Linked DNA regions of Homo sapiens: regions 1, 3, 4, 5, 6 and 7 are each linked to region 2. Evidence: promoter capture Hi-C in 16 types of primary human blood cells and fetal thymus (Javierre and others, 2016). All regions are on one chromosome and are shown on one strand. Each heading gives the region's core, a stretch centred on a gene start or on the middle of the fragment in contact. The rest is flanking DNA. Distances are from core to core; before and after follow the strand shown. Region 1 overlaps LOC105371293 (a long non-coding RNA gene). Region 2 holds the start of CNOT1 (CCR4-NOT transcription complex subunit 1). Region 3 holds the start of CSNK2A2 (casein kinase 2 alpha 2). Region 4 overlaps CFAP20 (cilia and flagella associated protein 20). Region 5 overlaps PRSS54 (serine protease 54). Region 6 has its middle 32 kb from the start of PRSS54. Region 7 overlaps CSNK2A2 (casein kinase 2 alpha 2).

What was found. Contacts are between HindIII fragments. The CHiCAGO score rates a contact against its expected background, and 5 or more counts as called.
Region 1: a fragment that was not itself captured here is called in contact with the fragment with the promoter of CNOT1 in region 2 in 2 of 17 cell types (total B cells and non-activated CD4 T cells); the score reaches 5.4 in total B cells.
Region 3: a contact is called between the fragment with the promoter of CSNK2A2 here and the fragment with the promoter of CNOT1 in region 2, in 7 of 17 cell types (total CD8 T cells, naive CD4 T cells, monocytes and 4 more). The highest score is 7.1, in total CD8 T cells.
Region 4: a contact is called between a fragment that was not itself captured here and the fragment with the promoter of CNOT1 in region 2, in 1 of 17 cell types (monocytes). The highest score is 6.0, in monocytes.
Region 5: a contact is called between a fragment that was not itself captured here and the fragment with the promoter of CNOT1 in region 2, in 1 of 17 cell types (fetal thymus). The highest score is 5.1, in fetal thymus.
Region 6: a fragment that was not itself captured here is called in contact with the fragment with the promoter of CNOT1 in region 2 in 1 of 17 cell types (M1 macrophages); the score reaches 8.6 in M1 macrophages.
Region 7: a fragment that was not itself captured here is called in contact with the fragment with the promoter of CNOT1 in region 2 in 3 of 17 cell types (M2 macrophages, total CD8 T cells and M1 macrophages); the score reaches 6.7 in M2 macrophages.

What each region holds. Positions count from the first base shown.
Region 1 is chr16:58,241,877-58,244,579 of GRCh38, reverse strand. It overlaps LOC105371293 (a long non-coding RNA gene), which reads left to right. Exons shown (of 4, transcript XR_933630.2): 3 at 1,671-1,810. Among named protein-coding and RNA genes, the nearest start is that of CFAP263, 6.7 kb to the left of the region's middle. RefSeq lists an enhancer at 1,013-1,072. The HindIII fragment of the contact is 467 bases long and covers 1,217-1,683 here.
Region 2 is chr16:58,628,568-58,631,267 of GRCh38, reverse strand. CNOT1 (CCR4-NOT transcription complex subunit 1) reads left to right here and starts at 1,442. Exons shown (of 49, transcript NM_016284.5): 1 at 1,442-1,540. RefSeq lists enhancers at 575-1,064, 1,355-1,564, 1,013-1,688, 1,689-2,365. The HindIII fragment of the contact is 12,291 bases long and covers 1-2,444 here.
Region 3 is chr16:58,196,802-58,199,501 of GRCh38, reverse strand. CSNK2A2 (casein kinase 2 alpha 2) reads left to right here and starts at 1,396. Exons shown (of 12, transcript NM_001896.4): 1 at 1,396-1,869; 2 at 2,658-2,700. The coding sequence starts at 1,766. RefSeq lists silencers at 1,043-1,172, 1,223-1,492, 1,893-1,962. The HindIII fragment of the contact is 2,827 bases long and covers 39-2,700 here.
Region 4 is chr16:58,121,406-58,124,115 of GRCh38, reverse strand. All of the region lies in intron 1 of CFAP20 (cilia and flagella associated protein 20), which reads left to right. Among named protein-coding and RNA genes, the nearest start is that of CFAP20, 6.6 kb to the left of the region's middle. The HindIII fragment of the contact is 2,148 bases long and covers 290-2,437 here.
Region 5 is chr16:58,283,932-58,286,631 of GRCh38, reverse strand. PRSS54 (serine protease 54) reads left to right here. Exons shown (of 7, transcript NM_001305173.2): 5 at 437-695; 6 at 1,911-2,042. Among named protein-coding and RNA genes, the nearest start is that of PRSS54, 9.7 kb to the left of the region's middle. The HindIII fragment of the contact is 1,874 bases long and covers 392-2,265 here.
Region 6 is chr16:58,325,735-58,328,434 of GRCh38, reverse strand. No RefSeq gene overlaps it. Among named protein-coding and RNA genes, the nearest start is that of PRSS54, 32 kb to the right of the region's middle. The HindIII fragment of the contact is 4,072 bases long and covers 1-2,700 here.
Region 7 is chr16:58,174,088-58,176,979 of GRCh38, reverse strand. It overlaps CSNK2A2 (casein kinase 2 alpha 2), which reads left to right. Exons shown (of 12, transcript NM_001896.4): 5 at 2,470-2,529. Among named protein-coding and RNA genes, the nearest start is that of CSNK2A2, 23 kb to the left of the region's middle. The HindIII fragment of the contact is 709 bases long and covers 1,002-1,710 here.

The DNA.
Region 1 (2,703 bases), core at 201-2,700, 390 kb after region 2:
CCTCTTAACGTCTCCCCTTGTGCTCTCGGGCTCTACCCTGGAAAATCCAGAGGCAACAGAGTGGAGAAGAGGAGGGGAGAAAAGCAAGATGGGAAAAGGAGACTGAGGCTGATCTGAGCTGGTATCTCATCCAGTTATTAATCCTGAAAACCTCCATATCCCAGGGATAGCTCCAGAGACGTGGATCTGAAAAAGGAAATAAACAGACCCTGGCTCAATCCTCAATCAGTAGAGTCTGTCACAGCTGAGCAACATATATCGCTTTAATCGATGTTAAGGAAGAATTGAGTTAGTAAGGAAGAGGGATATTTCAAATATTGGCAAACAAAAAAATAATAGTAATAACAGCAAACATTCGAGTGCTTTGTCCCCTAACCCTGTAAAATAAGTACTATTGTAACCAAGTATCCCAGCCTCAAACTGCGTTTTAAAACATTTTTCCCTTCTTGCTTCCAGCCTTGAAACATACTTTGAAACTTTTTGTTTTGCCTTTTCCCACCAGCCACTTCTATGAACAGTACTCGCTTATCTAATTATGTGCTTGCTTAGAAATTCCAGGGATCGATTTTGAAACAAGCCAGGCAGAGAGACCCAGCTGTGGAACCCTCTGATTAGGGGGAGTTAGGAGCAGTTAGCCCACCACTACCGCAGTCAGCATGATGCAAACCGGTCCTCCAGACAGGCGATGACTCAAGATAACAAGACCTCCTGCTGCACCACTCCCGCGTTTCTCTCACCTTTTTCCTTCTTAAACCCCTTCACTCAGCCCAAAAAGTTAGAATGGTCTTTCAGAGGCATGGGCCTGTCCATTCCCCAACTGCTAGCATTTGAATAAAGTTGCTTTCCTTTCACCACAACTTGCTTCTTGTGTTTTTGGCCTCCAAGCGGTGAGCAGCTGGACTTGGCCAGTTACACTATTACTCACCTCATTTGTATAGGTGAGGAAGTGAAAGCCAGAGAGGCGATGTGAATTACTCAGTCAAACAGCAGGTGACATGCAGAGCTAGAGCCGAAAGCTTGTACCTTTAATCATTACTCATTCCTTTCCATCCCAGTCCTTCTCCTATCCATCCAAAGCCATTCCCACTAAGGTGTTGGAAGAGTTCATTGAGATTACATTTAACCAGGTACCAGGCATGGAGCAAGCTCTGGGTTATTATTTTCCTAGATTAAAGGCCTGACTATGCAAATGTGCATCTCTAAAATGTAAGAAGCTTAGTACATTTTCCTTTGTACTGCCTTCTCTTGATATTTTCCTTTGTAGTGTCTTTCCTTGATCCTGCTCGTCTTCAGAAGTGAGGAGGAGACAGAAAAAATATTTGAAGAAATAATGGCTGAATTTTTCCACATTTGATGAAAATTACAAACCTATAGATCTAAGAAGTTCAACCAACCTCATATAACAATAAACATGAGGAAAATGACACCAAAGATACCATAACTAAATTGCTTACAACTAGGGATAAACAGAAAACCTTAGAAGCAGCCAGGAAAAAAAAAAAAGACACAGTATATACAAAGAATCAAGGATTAAAATGATAGATTTCTTGTAGGTAACAATTCAAGCTGGTAGAGTTCTGAAAGAAAAAAAAAAACACCTGTCAAACTAGAATACTTTACACAGCAAAAATATCTTTTAAAAATAAAGACAAAATAAATATTTTTTTCAGATATTCAAAAGCTTGAAAGAATTTGTTGCCAGAAGAGCTTCACTATACAAGATATGTTAAAGGATGTCCTTCAGGCAGAAAGAAGATGATACCAGATGGAAATCTGGATCAACACAAAGAAATGAAGAGCACTAGAAATGGTAACTAAGTGGATAAGTAAATATATTTCTCTCATTATTTAATTTTCTTTGAAAGATAAATAACTTTATATAACAAAAATTATGTATTGTAGAGTTTACAACATTTACATTGTAGCTAAGCACGGTGGCTCATGCCTGTAATCCCAGCACTTTGGGAGGCAGAGGCCAGTGGATCACTTGAGGTCAGGAGTTTGAGATCAGCCTGACCAACATGGTGAAACCTTGTCTCTACTAAAAAAAATATGAAATTAGCCGGGCGTGGTGGCACATACCTGTAATCTCAGCTACTTGGGAGTCTGAGGCAGGAGAATTGCTTGAACCCAGGAGGCAGAGGTTGCAGTGAGCCCAGATCGGGCCATTGCATTCCAGCCAGGGTGACAAGAGCAAAAAACTCCATCTCAAAAGAAAGAAAGAAAGAAAAAAAAAACATTTACATTGTAGAGTTTATAAGTGAAATGTATGACAATGATAGTAGAGGAGAAATGGGAGTGTGATGGTATAAAGTTCTTATACTATACATAAAGTGGTATAATAACACTTGAAGATAGACTGTACTAAGTTAAAGAAATGTACCATAAACCCCAAAGCAATGACAAAAATGACACAGCAAAGACATAAAACTAAAAGAGTAGCTTTAACTCTAGACTGAATGTCTAGACAATGTGGTAGACAGAACAATGGCCCGCAAAGATATCCAGGTTCTAATCATTGGAACCTATGAATATTACCTTGTAAAGGGGGAAAAGGTCTTAACAATTTTAGCGATTAAGTTAAAGGTCTTAAAATGGAGTGGTTATCCTGGATTATGTAAGTGGGCCCTAAAAGCAATCACAAGTGTCCTTACAAGAGGGAGGCAGAAGGAGATTCTACTACAGAAGAGAGAAAGCAATGTG
Region 2 (2,700 bases), core at 193-2,692:
CTCGGCCTCCCAAAGTGCTGGGATTGCAGGCGTGATCCGCAGCGCCCTGCCTTTTTTTTTTTTTTTTTTTTTTTGAGACAGAGTTTTGCTCTGTCGCTCAGGCTGGAGTGCAGTGGCGCGATCTCTGCTCACTGCAACCCACGCCTCCCGGGTTCAAGCGATTCTCCTGCCTCAGCCTCCTAAGTAGCTGGGATTACAGGTGTGCGCCACCACGCCCGGCTAATTTTTTGTATCTTAGTAGAGATGGGGTTTCACCGTGTTAGCCAGGATGGTCTCGATCACCTGACGTCGTGATCCACCCGCCTCAGCCTCCCAAAGAGCTGGTATTACAAGCGTGAGCCACCGCGCCCGGCCTTAATTTCAAAAGGTAATAGAGCTAACCAGTCAACACTTCCTTCCCAATCCTTTCTCTTTTGGGTACAGGTGAGTATAAAATCTTACCAACTATCATAGTTAACAAACAAACCATAGCAAAATATGTTTCTATGCTTTTTCTCTTGAGAGCAAAGGACATGGGTATCCTTTCTTAGACGGCTTCTAGGACTTAAGCCAGGAAGAGAACTTGCGTCTCCTACGTCTCTGGAAGGCGTCTCTGGAAGGTGTCCCTTCTTCAATAGACAGAACTAAAACAGAAAGTTCCCTTGACCAAAGCGAAGCAAGCGAGGACAAGGTGGCCACCTGGGTGACTACAACCCCCAGCATGCACTGCTCCTTCTAGGGCGCAGCGACGAACGAAGACGCATTACTTCTGCGATGGGAACGGGGTAGAGGAGCGCGACTACACATCCCAGGATGCAAAGCGCCCCAACTCTAGTCACAACCTGGCTTGCTTTCTGGCTGGCGTTCCCCGCCAAAGGGACACTAGGGGAGGGGATTGTTTCGGTTGGGAATCCCCGAAGTCTACTGGACCGTGACATTTCGAAAGAGGAAGGAAAGTGGAGGAAAGCTGTTTCACTGTAATTCAAAGTAGTTCCCGCGCAGGGTGGCGAGGAGTTATGGGCCCCTTCCATAATTTATTGTTCCTCAAAGGCAATGCCAAGCCCCACTGGTCGCAGCCCTCCAGGGCAGGTGGGAAGTACGTGAAGCCCCAAATCGAAGTTATCAGCCTCTCCCTATTGGCCCTCGCCTCGAGCGCAGGCGCGAGGGCTCTGACTCCGGTCCCCTGGGCCTGGTGAGCGGCAATTGGCCAAAGTCCGCGAAGTAGGAGGCCGGATTGGTAGTTGCTAGCAGGAGCCTGATTTCTTCCTCGACTTCTGCAAGTGATAGAGTGTGATTGGTTTAAATCCGCGGGCACCTGTCGGTGATTGGGTAGAAGCCACAGGCGGGGCGCGGCCATTGGCTGGCTCTGGGGCCATCCCTCCTCGGGCGGGCAGCGAATGATGAAATGGGAACGGGGAGGGGAAAGGCCGCGACGTGAGCGCGCGACCTCCGGCGCCATTTTGTAGAGAAACAAGCGGAGTTAACCGAAGAGGGGGTCGAGGAGAGCCGGAGTCGGGGACCCAGGAGTTTCCTGTGTCCAGCGCTGCCGGAGCCGCCTGAGGTGAGGCGGGTTGGCGTCAGGGGCTAGGGTAGGGTGGCGGTGTCAGCTTGGGAACGCGAGAGCCGGTGGGAGGAGGAACAGGGGTGGACCTGGGGCCACTGGAAGCGTTTCCCGGAGCTCTAGGGAGTGAGAGGCAGCCGGGACGGGGAAGTGGGACGAGGCGGGAGAGGGCGGACTCTTCTCCACACGGCTCTCGGAGGCTTCGCGCTCTGAAGATGAGAGGCCAGCGAGAAGGCTCCAGGAAGCGGAGGGTAGAGCGCGGGGTGAGACCCATGGTGGTCTCTGTCCCGGGCCTGGAGGCTCAGGGGGCGGCAGCGGCGGCAGTTCGTGTCGCTGGGCCTGGCTTCGCGCGGGTTGCACCCCTCTGAGACCTCCACGACCTCCTTAACTACTGTTTCTGTCTCTGCTCCCTGATGGTTGCAGTGGGCATCGGCTTCCGAGGCCTAGGGCTTCTGGCGGGGGGGACCGTGTTTGGAGTTTTTGCATGTTTCCAGTTCTTCTCCGTGTACTCGGAGCTGCCACTCTCCCCGTCTTACGCCCCCAGCACGTTGTCAAAGCCCCCCAGGTTTCGGGTGTCCCCGGATGGGAAGGGCGGGCGGGAGCAAGCACTTCCTTATTACTTGCTACAGGTTTTGTTCCACTCGCGCGCCTGGGCGCTCACACTTTCTTTGAAGTTGGCCCCCACCTACTCGGTCCGGTGTCTGCAGTAGTGGCGGTCCTGCTCACCCAGGACAAGTGTCCCGCTAGTGAGCTGAGCACTTGTAGGCCTCAAGGCTGATAAGATCCACGGCAGGTCTTGTAGAGGTACTTAAGGCCAAACACAAATAATACTTTTTCAGTACCACCTCCTTTGCAGAATTCACCCAAGAGGGCTCACAGATACTAACTCCCCGAGGAGTAAGCTTTGTAGATTAAAAAAGAATGCTTGACATCTGTGCGTTTGAAAATGTTGTATTTAAAATAAACTTTATGACAAACTTTTCCCATGAAGTTAATCAAATGTCACATTTCTTAGGACTCTAATAAAGTCTGTTTTCTTCCTGAAAACTGAGTAACAATGCTTAACCTACCCTGCCGATTTCTCTACAATTCGATAGCCTGTGACTACTTGGGTTTTTTTTTTTTTTTAAGTCAGTGATTGAGTGAATATAATTATACTG
Region 3 (2,700 bases), core at 147-2,646, 430 kb after region 2:
GTGGGGTGGAGGGGTTGGGGGTGGCTCCTAGTTAAGCTTGGAGGATAGAAGGAACCAAAAGACGGATGCACGGTGGTCTCAGGGAGGGAGGAATGAGCAGAGAAAGGCCCTAGGCCTGGAAATAATCATATTGAACACATGCTATCCTAATAGTGAACACCATCCTAAGTGTTTCACATGGTTTACCTTGTTTAATTCTCCTTGCAGCCCTGTGAAGTGAGCGTTATTACTGGTTTTATGCTGTAGAATCTGTGACACAGAGAGGTTGAGTAATTGCCCTAAGGTCACACAGCTTCTAAGTAGCAGTGCTGGATAGATCTGACTCCACAGACTGTGCTCTTAGCTGTGTCAAGCAGGAAGGCCCAGGGTTTCATCCAGAAAACAGAATGTGAAAAGGGACTGGAATGAAAGCAACCTGTACTGGGTGCAGAGGTGCTGTCGATAAAGGATGAGGGATGGGAAAGGAAGACAGAAGAAAGGCCTAGAAGATCAAAGGAGAAGGGTGTTCAAGGCTGCAGGCAGCACTGGAAGCCAGGCCAGCTCAGTTGACCACCTACTCTGGGCACATCCCCAACCCAGCCTGTCCCTTCAGGTCGGATTTGCAATTCTCCTGCTCTCCCTCCTCCTAAACACAAACAGGAGATTTACACTCTCAAAGTCTCTCCCCACAAATGACTTATTAATCACAAAGGGAAAAATTGTAACTTTGCAGTGGCACAACCTGGTCAATGCCAGCTTAACCAAGTGACCAAAGTGGATATTCAGGGAAGGCTCTGGAAGGGCATTTGGGGGAAGTGTAGAAAGGTTTTGTGAGGAGCACTCTGAATGACGGGGGTAGGAAGCCTTGGGGACTGAGGAGTCTACCCTAACAGGGCAGGGTCCAGAGGGGGAAGGAGGGGTATGTCTCGGGGGAAGGGAGAAGTATTGAGGTGGGGGAGGTTCTGAGGTTTGAGTGAGGCCCTGGGGAGGGACTTGACAGTTTGGGTGACAGGAGGGTCAGAATAGGGTCAGTATGGGATGTGTTGGGTGGGTAAAAGCTGGGTGAGTGCAGGGCTGGGGATAGGGTCTCCAAGGACAGTGAAAGGGTCGGGAGTCGCGGGCGAGGGCTCTAGGGCAACGGCCAGTGGAAGGGGGGGCTCCTGTGGCGTGAAGTCAAGCCAGCCCGAGGGTGAGGCGATTTGGACAGTCCGACCTGTGGCGGCGGGAGGGCGAGGGTGGCGGAGGGCGCGAGGTAGGCGGCGGGGCGTGCCGGGGCGGGGCCGGGGCGGGGCCGGCACCGCCCGGCGGGTCCCCCCGCGCTCCAGGGGGCGCTGTGAGCCTGGGCGGCCCCAGGCCGGGCGGCGGCCGCTCCCAGTGAGCGCGGCCCCTTTTCCGGGTTTCCTCCGCCTCCTCCTCCTCTCCTCCTTCTTCTCCGCTGCCGCCGCCGCTGCCCCTTTCCCGGCCGGTGGCTGCCGCTGCCGGTGCCGCCGCCGCCGCCTCCTGGGGGCCGCGAGCCGAGCGGAGACCGCCGCGGAGCGCGAGCGCCGCCCGCCCCGCCGCCCCGCCGGCCGCTCCAGGGCCGGGCCGGCTCGGCCGGCGCCCCCCGCGCCCCCAGCCCGCCCGCCCCCGCGGGCCCGGCCTGGCGCGGCCGCCCGCCGCCGCGCTCCTCCTCCTCCTCCTCCAGCGCCCGGCGGCCCGCTGCCTCCTCCGCCCGACGCCCCGCGTCCCCCGCCGCGCCGCCGCCGCCACCCTCTGCGCCCCGCGCCGCCCCCCGGTCCCGCCCGCCATGCCCGGCCCGGCCGCGGGCAGCAGGGCCCGGGTCTACGCCGAGGTGAACAGTCTGAGGAGCCGCGAGTACTGGGACTACGAGGCTCACGTCCCGAGCTGGGGGTAAAGCCGTCGCCGCCCCCCGCCGGGCCCGCTGATCCCTGCCCCCGCCCGGCCACCCCCTGCGAACCGCACTCGGGCCCGGTGGTGTCTCCCGCCGACCCCTCCGCGGGCCCGCAGGGAGGCAGAGGTCCCGCTCTCGCACATGTCCTCGTCTTCCTCTTCCCTCCCCTTTACCCCCGTTTCGTCCCTTTCTCCCCGCTTTGCGCACCCCTTTCCCCCAAGGAATGCTTTTTTACTCGGGGAGAAGTGTGGGGTCCAGGGATCGACGCCGGGTGGAAGTGAGGGAGCTGCCCTTCCTCACACTTCTGGGTTTCCACTGGGGTGGGAAGTCAACAGCTGTCCTTTGGAGCTATTAAAATGCCCTGCCTTTTAGGTTTTCTGAGATGAGGTGGTGGGAGGAAATTTCTTAAAGACGTCCAGATTTTTAAAACAGGCATTGTCTACCTTGAAGATGTGAAACGAGAAGCAGGTGCTGGGGAGCCGCGGGGCACAGGGGGCACCCTCTAGGCCTTCAGGACGGGTGCTTTGCTCGCCCCTCTGGATTGGCTCAGAGCGTTGCCTTCCTGCCCCATCTTCCCAAGTTAGGAGAGACCAATTAGGTTAGGAGCTCTGCAGAGTGAAGGGAGCCAAGATTATGTCGTGGCTTTCATTTAGGGAATGAGTTGTGACGTGATGTATAGACACTTCCAAGTGTTTGCCTGGTGGAAGCGGCTGAATGACGTGTACAGTGGGCATAGGCTTGGTTAACCCCCAGTCCTGGCATTTATGTGTGTGTCTTCCTTTTACAGTAATCAAGATGATTACCAACTGGTTCGAAAACTTGGTCGGGGA
Region 4 (2,710 bases), core at 114-2,613, 510 kb after region 2:
ACCCGGTTCCCCCTCTTAGTAGTAGCCTCCTACTGAATTGAAGGAAGTCCTGTTCTCTCACCTTCAAGCTTTTGCACTTCCTGGTCCTTCTGCTGGGCGCTGCCCCTCACCACCCCACAAGCCTCACTCCCATCTTTTCATTAGGCTCCAGTCACAGTTCAAAGGCCTTTCTCAGAGTGACCTTCCTTAACTCTTCAGGGTAAGTTAATTTACTTCTTTCTTATCACACTTGACATTATTAGCTTCTTAAGGTCTGTATTCCTGGCTATACAGTTTCCTGATAGAAGCTTTTGTAAGTTTCTAAACCAACAGCTTAGAAGAAATTAGGGGTTTCTTTAATGTTACCTTGACATCTGGGACCAGCAAATCTTATATTTATTAAAAGACTCTTACGTTTAATGTAAACATTACTTCTGGTTGTAAGGAAAATACCAGGAGGTTCTGTTCCCACTTATACTTGTGTAAAACATGCTGTAATTTTCAGTCTTTTTTTTTTTTTTTTTTTTTTTTTTTTTTTTTTGAGACAGAGTCTTGCTCTGTCCCCCAGGCTGGAGTGCAGTGGCACGATCTCGGCTCACTGCAGGCTCCACCACCTGGGTTCACGCCATTCTCCTGCCTCAGCCTCCGGAGTAGCTGGGACTACAGGCGCCCGCCACCACGCCCAGCTAATTTTTTGCATTTTTAGTAAAGATAGGTTTTCACCGTGTTAGCCAGGATGGTCTCGATCTCCTGACCTCGTGATCCGCCTGCCTTGGCCTCCCAAAGTGTTGGGATTACAGGCGTGAGCCACTGCGCCCAGCCAATTTTCGGTCTTAATGGTAGTAATCCTGGCTGGGCGCAGTGGCTCACGCCTGTAATCCTAGCACTTTGGGAGGCCAAGGCGAGCTGAGGTCAGGAGTTCAAGACCAGCCTGACCAACATGAAGAAATCCCGTCTCTACTAAAAATACAAAAGTTAGCCGGGCATGGTGGCACATGCCTGTAATCCCAGCTACTCGGGAGGCTGAGGCAGGAGAATCACTTGAACCCGGGAGGTGGAGGTTGCGGTGAGCCGAGATGGTGCCATTGCACTCCAGCCTGGGCAACAAAAGCAAAACTTTGTCTCAAAAAAAACAAGATAGTATCCTAAAAGTACATGAGATGAGATTGCATTAATTCATGAAAACGCCTTTGTCTGTCTTTCCTGTCACCCTGTCTTTCTCTCAGCTGCTGCTGTTTCTCCCCTACTCCAAGACTAAATATTAGACCAGAGTCTTCTGCTGTTGCTGGATAGTGTTAGATTCCCATGTCCTGTTCTAATTTTAAAAATAAAGTCTCTCTTCAGAAAAAATTTCCTACATTCTAGTTTTTAGTTAGCATGCCTTGTTGATAAAAATTAAATTGGTGCTGTTTTCAGTAGTAGAATTGAGTGTATTTGGACATAAAGGTGGTAAAACTTTTTTTCTGACTTGGAGAATGTTCTTCATTATTCTGAGTCAGGTTTTACTGTAATTGAACGAAGACATGGTTTTTTGGTTTTGTTTTTCTTTTTTTTTGAAACAGAGTCTCGCTCTGTCACCCAGGCTGGAGTGCAATGGCACAATCTCAGCTTACTGCAACCTCCTCTTTCTGGATTCAAGCAATTCTCCTGCCTCAGCCTCCTGAGTAGCTGGGATTACAGGCATGCGCTACCACACCCAGCTAATTTTTTTGTATTTTTAGTAGAGATGGGGTTTCACATGTTGCCCAGGCTGGTCTCAAACTCCTGATCTCAGGTGATCCTCCCACCTCAGCCTCCAAAAGTGCTGGGATTACAGGCGTGAGCCACCGCGCCCGTCCGAAGACATGGGTTTTAATTACACTTGCCTTTTCTTAGCTGTGCACATAATTGTCCTTACGCTGACTTAGGGGTTGTTGGTGTATGCCCAGAGTTGCTTGTCTGCTGTCTGGATAGCCCCTGTCAAGTACAGCGAAGGGAGTGAAGCCTTTGACCCTTGGAGCCTGGGAGTCTGAGTCGGAGCTATGCTCAGTTCTCCCCACAGGGGTCTCCCTCTGCCTAATTTCTGTCTGGGAACCCAGCCCTTAACCCAGTGCAGGAACTTTCCTGCTGAAATGGACAGCTCTAATGGTTTAATGTAAATTAGAGCATGTGTCATTAAAGCTAGGATGCCAGATGGCTGAGGGTTCAGCTGCCTGCCAGGCTGAGTGGGTGGGGCCAGAAAAATGAAAGTTGGGGGAGGGAATGGATACAACTCATGTTATTTTTAAAGCAGTCATAGAAATATACAGCATCCACCAGCTCCCTCCCTATCCCAGTAGTAGTATTTTTTTTTTCCCTCAGCTTGACCCACCTCCCTGAGGCTTACATTGCGGGGAGGGAGAGAAATCGGTGTTCTTTATTAGTTGCCCTAGCAACCATGGAAAGCCTGGGAGAGTGATTGTAAGACTGGCCTGAAGCTTTGGTCACCTCTGTTGTCTGCAGAGGCAGAGAACCATTATGATCTGTAATTGCCAGTAACTGGATTCTGAAGCTCTTTGAGTATCTCCAGCTCATGGGCAGGGGAGGGGAAATTAATGAAATAAAACAATATTGGCTTTAGATTTTTATTTTTATTTTATTTTTTTTGAGGAATAAAGCACTCATAGGCCACACTTTGATAGTGGGAATGTGTCATGAATGAAAAAGAATTAACAAATCAAAAACAGTCGGCTCTTTGTGATCTAGAGAAGGA
Region 5 (2,700 bases), core at 79-2,578, 340 kb after region 2:
TGTATTTACAGAATATATAATAAAGAAAGATGCCTGTTTTAAAATGTAAATACTAAAAGCAGGAGTCAAGATGACATGTTTGGTAGAACTGCAATTACTACTTTTGCAAACTACAATATGTAAAAAAAAAAAAAACTATTCATAGAAAAAACATTAATCAGCAATAACATGTTAACAGATTTTCTTTAGTGGTGGGGCAAATGGTGTTAAGATTAAAGAATCTCCAGGATTCTGCAGGCTCACAAAAGAGGGCACAAGCCTAGGGGTTCATAAAAGATTTCCTAGAAACTTGAGTCCAAAGGGGTGAGGAAGAATTAACACAGGAAATATGAGCTGGATGAGTGTTCCAGGCTGAAAAAACTTAAATGGGAAAACAGGGAAGCGTGAAGCTTCCTTGCTGTCTTGGCTTCTCAAGATTCCCTTGCTCTCTCTCCAGGAAGGACATTGTCGTTATAGTGGGTATAAGTAACATGGATCCTAGCAAGATTGCTCACACAGAGTATCCAGTCAATACCATCATCATCCATGAGGACTTTGATAACAACTCCATGAGCAACAACATAGCCCTCCTGAAGACAGACACAGCGATGCATTTTGGCAACCTGGTCCAGTCCATCTGCTTCCTCGGCAGAATGCTGCATACACCACCAGTCTTGCAGAACTGCTGGGTGTCAGGATGGAATCCCACATCTGCAGTTAAGGCATTCCTCCTCCCAGAGAAGGCTGCGTGTGTGCTGGCAGTGGGGGTGACCTGGATAATCCAATCTAGGGCCTATCTTAATTTAATAATGGAGTTTGCTTGAGGTTCTAGAGTTTGGCTGAAACCCTTACCTAATCAGTCAAGACTCCCAGGGCTTTCTGTAGCCACTCTTCTTCTTCTTCTTCTTTTTTTTTTTTTTTTTTTTTTTGAGACAGGGTCTTTTCCATGCAGTGGTGCCATCACGGCTCACTGCAGCCTTGAACTCCTGGGCTCAAGTGATCTTCCTGCCTCAGCCCCGAGTACCTGGGACTACAGGCACATGTCACCATGCCTGGTTAATTGTTTTAAATTTATTTTTGTGGAAATGGGGTCTTGCTATGTTGCCCAGGCTTGTATCGAACTCCTGGGCTCAAGCAAGCCTCCCACCTCAGCCTTCCAAAGTGTTGGGATTACAGGCGTGAGCCACTGCACCCATCCAGTGGCCATTCTTACATCACATTGGTCCTTTACCCTCTAGCCCTACACCAAAACTGGAAGTACAGAGGCAGTGGACACCCTGGAATGAATACAAGTGTACAGAGAGGTGAGGGGATGTTAGTCCCCGAACTACGGCTGATTGTCCTCTTGTCTAAGCCATCGTTGTTTTCTTTCACTTTGGGGAAAGAAAGAAACAAGGAAATGGATACTCTCTAGAAGAGGAGGAAGGGTGTTCTCTGCCTGTTTGCACATTCAAGTTCAAAGTGGAGGTAGTTTTCAGTAAAAACTCAGTCACAGGTTCTTATTTCTATGAAAAAAAGGGATTTATAAGAACATTCCTGGCAGGGCACAGCGGCTCATGCCTGTAATCCCAGCACTTAGGGAAGCCAAGGCAGGTGGATCACTTGAGGTCAGGAGTTCGAGACCAGCCTGACCAACATGGTGAAACTCCATCTCTATTAAAAATACCAAAATTAGCTGGGCGTTGTGGTGCATGCCTATAATCCCAGCTACTCCGGAAGCTGAGGCAGGAGAATTGCTTGAACCCGAAAGGCAGAAGTTGCAGTGAGCCAAGATCACACCACTGTACTCCAGCCTGCGTGACAGAACAAGACTCCAACTCAAAAAAAAAAAAAAATTCTCACTCTCGTTTGGCTATATGAGTGGGAGTTGTGTTGACATAGGGGACTGCCTTCTCGTTAATAATCCCTGGGCTCTCTGTTGCATGGTCCAGACAGGAAATCACATGACGATGAGTGTCCTGAGGAAAATCTTCGTGAAAGATCTTGACATGTGTCCCCTATACAAACTCCAGAAGACAGAATGCGGCAGCCACACGAAAGAGGAAACCAAGACTGCCTGCTTGGTAAGAACATCATGGAGTAGAAGCTAAGTGTTGAGAGTAAGCCTTGGTCACATCCAGGGGAGCCTCAGGACTCCCCTTCCCTAGATGGGGAGCTCTGTGAGGGCAGGGCTTGGGATGAGTGGCTGTCTCTGGAGTGAATAGCACTTGGCAGACAGTATGCGCTCAATAAAAATCTGCTGAATGAACTAACCAGTCACGATTTTCAGTGTAACATGATGAAGCTTGTCTAAGTCACAGGTGCTTTTTAACTAGCTAAAAATTTGAAAGTCTGAGTCCAAACCACAGAGGCCGATATGCTTTGAGCAGGTCTACAGTGTGGGGCTGCTGTATTCAGCTTCTAGGGAACCTAGACTCCCCTCTGATGCTATCAGTTACTGAGTTTTTCTTCTCTGAGAAGCCCTGCCCTCCACCCAGATGAGGGCTGTACGGATGTGGCTGTCCTACTGCCTCAAAAAAAAATGTGTAGAAGTCACACACACCTGGTTCAGGCCCCTTCATATCCAAATCTGGAGAAAGTGTGGCTTACTAGGGTCACACAGTCAATAAAAGTTACAGCAAAGACAAGGACCTAGGTCTACCAGATATCCAGACAGTGTTTATCTCCTCTGCTCTAGAATTGCTTTTCTATGAGGCTTAACACACACTCTCCTCTAAATAA
Region 6 (2,700 bases), core at 156-2,655, 300 kb after region 2:
CCACAGATGCAGAAAGCAGATTAGTGGTTGCCGGCGGGGTGGGGATGGGGAGAAATGGGGAATGGCTGTTAATGAAGATGGGATTTTTTCTTTTCTTTTCTTTTCTTTTTCTTTTTCTTTTCTTTTTTTTTTTTTTGAGACAGAGTCTCTTGCTGTCGCCCAGGCTAGAGTGCAGTGGTGCCATCTCGGCTGACTGCAACCTCCACCTCCTGGGCTCAAGCGATCCTCCCACCTCAGCCTCCCAAGTAGCCGGGACTACAGGCATGCATCAGCATGTCCAGCTAATTTTTGTATTTTTTAGTAGAGATGGGATTTCATCATATTGGCCAGGCTGGTCTCAAACTCCTTACCTCAGGTGATCCTCCCACTTCAGCCTCCCAAAGTGCTGGGATTAAAGGCGTGTGCCACCACCTGGCCAAGGGATGGAGTTTTTTCAGTGGTAATAAAAATGTTCTGGCCAGGCATGGTGGCTCACGCCTGTAATCCCAGCACTTCAGGAAGCTGAGATGGGCGGATCACCTCAGGTCAGGAGTTTGAGACCAGCCTGACCAACATCGAGAAACCCCGTCTCTATCAAAAATACAAAATTAGCCAGGCGTGGTGGCGCATGCCTGTAATCCCAGCTACTCGGGAGGCTGAGGCAGGAGAATCACTTGAACCCGGGGAGGCAGAGGTTGTGGTGAGCTGAGATCGTGCCGCTGCACTCCAGCCCAGGCAACAAGAGTGAAACTCCGTCTCAAAAAAATAAAAATAAAAATAAAACAAAAATGTTCTAAAACTGGTTATAGTGATGGATGCACCAACCTGTGAATATGGTAAAAAACATTTTTGCACCTTAAGTGGGTAAATTGTATGGTGGGATGTGAATTATATCTCAGTATATCTGCTTTTTAACAAAACCAACAAAACACCTTATGTCTAACTTGTTGAGCTCCAAATAAGCCTTTGAGTTGTGATATTTATTGTTTTGCTAAAGTGTTTCACTCTGGGAAGTTTAACAAAATGAGCACCTCACCTCAGGCAGCTCTCAAAGGGAAAACAAAGTTCCTCATCCTTACTTCTTGGGCAGACTTAACTGACTGCTGTATTTTATTTTTCTTACTTCCAGAGTGTTTTAAGAGTAGGCATTTTCCTCTGAGTACAGCTCTAGTGTTATCCATGAGTTTTTATATGGAGTGTTTTTATTAGCATTATTTCCCAAATATCTTATAAATGTATTTTTGCTCTAGAGCAGTTCCATAGAAAGGCTTGACATTCTCAAACGTCTTTCTGCATCTACTTTTTATTTTATTTTATTTGTTGCCAACTACAAAAGACATCCAATGCTTCTACTTTTAACTTATTTCCTGCGTTCTTGCATTATGATCAGGAATATGACGGTACAATTTCCAATTTCTTATATACAATGGGCTTTCCTTTTTATTTTATCTCATTGTGTCAAGAACACTTAACATGAGAGCTACCCTCTTAATAGATTTTAAAGTGTACAACACAATACTGTTATTTATAGCTACATTGTTATACAGAGGATCTCTAGAACTTTTTCCTCTTGAATAACTGAAATTTTATATCCACTGACTAGCAACTCCCCATTCCCTCCTCCCTCCAGCCTCTGGCAACCACCATTTTATTCTTTCTTTCTATGAGTTTGACACCATATAAGTAGAATCATGTATTTGTCCTTCTGTGATTCGCTTATTTCTCTTGGCATCCTGTTCTCCAGGTTCATCCATGTTGTCACATAACAGGATTTCTTTATTTTAAAGGCAGAATAATATTCCATTGTGTGTATTATTTATTTATTTAGAGAGAGGATCTTGCTCTGTCACCCAGGCTGGAGTGCACCCAGGTTGCTCGGCACACTGCAACCTCTGCCTCCCAGGCTCAGGTGATCCACCCGCCTCGGCCTCCCAAAGTGCTGGGATTACAGGTGTGAACCACCACTCTGGCCTCCATTGTATGTATATACCACATTTTGTTTACCCATTCATCAGTGGACATCGTTATACCTTTTTCCATTTAATTGAAAAGAAGTCTACTCTTTTCAAAGGATACAGTTCAGAACATTTAGTCATTATATTCTCCTCCTCTGTAATATCCTTACTTTCTTTTCTCTATTTAGTCCAACAAAGACTGAAACAAGTGGGTGAAAGTCTACCACCACTGTTGTATTTTTATTAATTTGTCTTAGTTATTCCCTCCAATTTTACATATGGAACAGGATGCTAAAATGGGACTCTTGTTTTGGCTTCAGCTGAGACTCCGAAGTGGAGTGAGATCAGTGCAACAGATGCCAAGAACTCTACCTCCTAAATTGGGGAGCTAGATTGCCTATGTAGGACATGCTGACGGGCTGTAAAAATGACTAATCCCACAATGCAGAGTAAAAGAGATAAAGTACAAAGATAACTTATAGGAGATTTATATGGTAAAATTTTCTGCCATTGTTAAAAGCTGTACTTTTGAAGAACAATAATATGGAAAAAAAGATCATAACATACTATTAATAGGAAAAAAGCACAGGACGCAAAACTATATGCTTAATCCTAGTTGTTTGAAATACACGTACAGAAAAAAGACAGGAAACAAATAACCTAATTGGGACTTCAGGTACTTTTTCTTTTCCTCTTGACATTTGTCTGAATTTTAGAAATTTTCTACAATAAATATGTGTTGGTTTCTTTTTAAAATTTTTTTTTT
Region 7 (2,892 bases), core at 107-2,606, 450 kb after region 2:
GCCACCAGCCACTGTACCCATTTCTCCCTGTTGTGTATGCCACGAAGCACAGGGAATGTTGGCATGAGACTCTTGGGGTCTGGACAAAGCACGCAGCAGAGTGAGGAGTCACCTTGAGAACCTGAGGTTACCACCAGTCCCTGTGTGAGGAATGTTAACTCTGGGGACATTGTGTTCTTAATGGTGTCCTGTGCACAGCCACATTGGAGAGTCAGTGGCATGGAGATAGAGAAGGGAGGTATCATTGTCAGCTCTGTAGAAAGCAGACAGGTTGGTTTTGGCTTTACAGGCTAAGGTGGAGTAGGGCTAGAGAGGGAAGAGTGGAGGCAGCAAACACGGGCTTGTTTTGTCAGAGCTGTGGACTCCTGGGGGTACAGTGAAGAACAGAGCTACAAAAGTCGGAGGAAGCCAGACTGTGGACCCTGCATAGTCTTGAATTTTGGGCCCAGGCGGTTAAATGTTACAGATGTAGTTTGGTCTCCTCCTACCCGGAGATCCTGAGAAGTGAGGGTGAATGGCAACCAGTCACTTGGGACTTTGTAATATCTTAGTCCTAAACACTAGTGTACAACTGGTGTCTTTGAATTAAATTGTTAATGGTTTTTGTAGCTAGAAATACTGTGTTGGCAGTCCAGAGACATTTATTTTTATGGCTTACACCATTTATACAGATGCATGGTGTAGGTACCACATGATGAGGGAGGCCTTCCACAGATAAAAGTCCTAATGAGATAGCCCATGTTAGTTTTCTGGAAATAAAATATTCCAGCCCTCTAAGGGTTAGAAAATTAGATCTTTTCTCTTTCATAGCGTATTTATTGACTTGAAGTTCAATTTAGCCTAGTCTCTGTGAGTGATTTCCTTAACTCACAGAGGAGGAGCTGCTTTGACACCCAAGAGATGGCATCTTAAGCCTGTCTTTACATTCAAGCTGTCAGTGTGCAGCCAAGTCCTGGCTAAGAAGCCTTCTTGCAGCAGAGCTGGGAGAAGAACAAAAAGCTTGGGTGTGTGTTATGTAGCTGAAGCTCTCCTGAGCAGAAGTGGTGGCTTGTTGGTGTTGTTCTGCCTGAATGGGGGTCAGCTGTAGCCAGGGCCAGCCACCCAACCCCACAACACCATGTACTGGCCTGTGCATTTCGTTCCCTGCGCTGCCCTGAGGTTGATGAAATCAAATATTTTTCCTAAGCTGGCAGGGGGAATTACTCTTACCTAAAGGGGGAAACTTGAGAAAGCAAAGACCTGGTATTCTTAGAAAATGTTAAATTTGGTTCTTGGCAAATTTGATTTTTTTATTAAATTTTTTTGAACATTATATGTGGATCAAAAATATAAAATGGTAGACAGTGAAAAGTCTCTTTTATTCCCCTGTATTCCAGCTGCCTATTCCTTTACACATATATACGTGAAACCAGTTTTTATTACTTCTGTATCATTTTTGCAGATACAGAAAATATGGATGTATAGTTTTTATTTTCCCCCTTATTACAGAGACACATTATATACACTGTTCTGTGTTCCCTGGAGAGATTCCCTACATTGCTTGAGTCTCTCTTTCAATAGAAGAACAAGAGAAGTTTAATAAAGGTGTGTTTCTTAATTTTATAGAAAGCATGGCTTGGATTGATGGGAAAACAGATTTACATGGATTTGATTGGATATCAAAGATAATGAGAGTTCCTGACAAGGGTTTATGATGCCTTTAATGAAGCTTGTAGCATTAATGTATTCTGACTCTTAGAAATTTTTTAAAAACTCCCAGCGAGTGGGTCTCTGGATTACCAATAATGAAAACTTCCATTTACCTATCAGTTTGGCCAGTGATCATTTTTGATACCCCTGTCTTTTTTCACTCCTAAGACGTCAGGTGTTGCCTGTGAAATGTTCTTTTTTTCCAGTCTGGAATTGGTTTCCGGGGAGCAGAGGGTATAGATTTTTTTGTAAGCTCTTGCCATCTGCAAATGCTATAGCACCTCCTTTTTCCTTATTTTTCTTTTTTGAGAACAGCCTGTGTCGCCACTGTTTTACCACAGTAGCCCATGAAGTTCTTCAGAGCTCTGCCATCCACTCAGAACTCACTTCTCTAGAGTATACTGTGGTGTTACAGTGGGGTTAGTTTTCTTGATGTTCGGTAAGAATGTGAAGACAGACAACTTAGACTTCACAATGGTGTAATTGTGGTTAATAATTGTAATTGGCAAAATCACAGAGCATTAAATAGGAAAGATCTGAGTTGGCTTAAATGTTTTTCTCCCTTGGAATTCCTTCCATTTTTTTTTTTCTTCTCTTCTGATGATTAAAATATAAAACCTTCATCTTTAGTCTTCCCATTTATTTCAGATCAGGTAGTAAAAAAGTCATGGGATTCCTTAGTCACTTAAGTATCAAATAAGCTTAGAGAATGGCCTGCACTTAGGATGACAAGATGCAGTGAGACTAAATTAACTTTCTGTTTTCTGGAATCTGTTTCAGCAACTCTACCAGATCCTGACAGACTTTGATATCCGGTTTTATATGTATGAACTACTTAAAGTAAGTGGTGTTCATAAACCATTAATTTTTTTCAGGCCTGTTCATTAAAAGATAAGTTTTTGAGAGAACAAAGAGAACTTAAGCAGAATGTTTCTTGATACCCAGAGGATTTAGTGAAGTTTTTAAACTTATATTGAGGCCTCCATCGAGGAATCTTCACATAGAAACTTTCCAGTGGAACTGGGAAAAAAGTGGCCAAGTCAAGGGGTACCAGGGACATTATACCTTAGAACCTCCCATAGCTCTTGTTGGTCCATATGTTTTCTCTTTGCTGCTTTATTAATACCTACTGTGAATGTAACAAATCATCCCAAACTTAATGACTTTTAAAAAATGATTATTGTTTCTTATAATTGAGTTAGC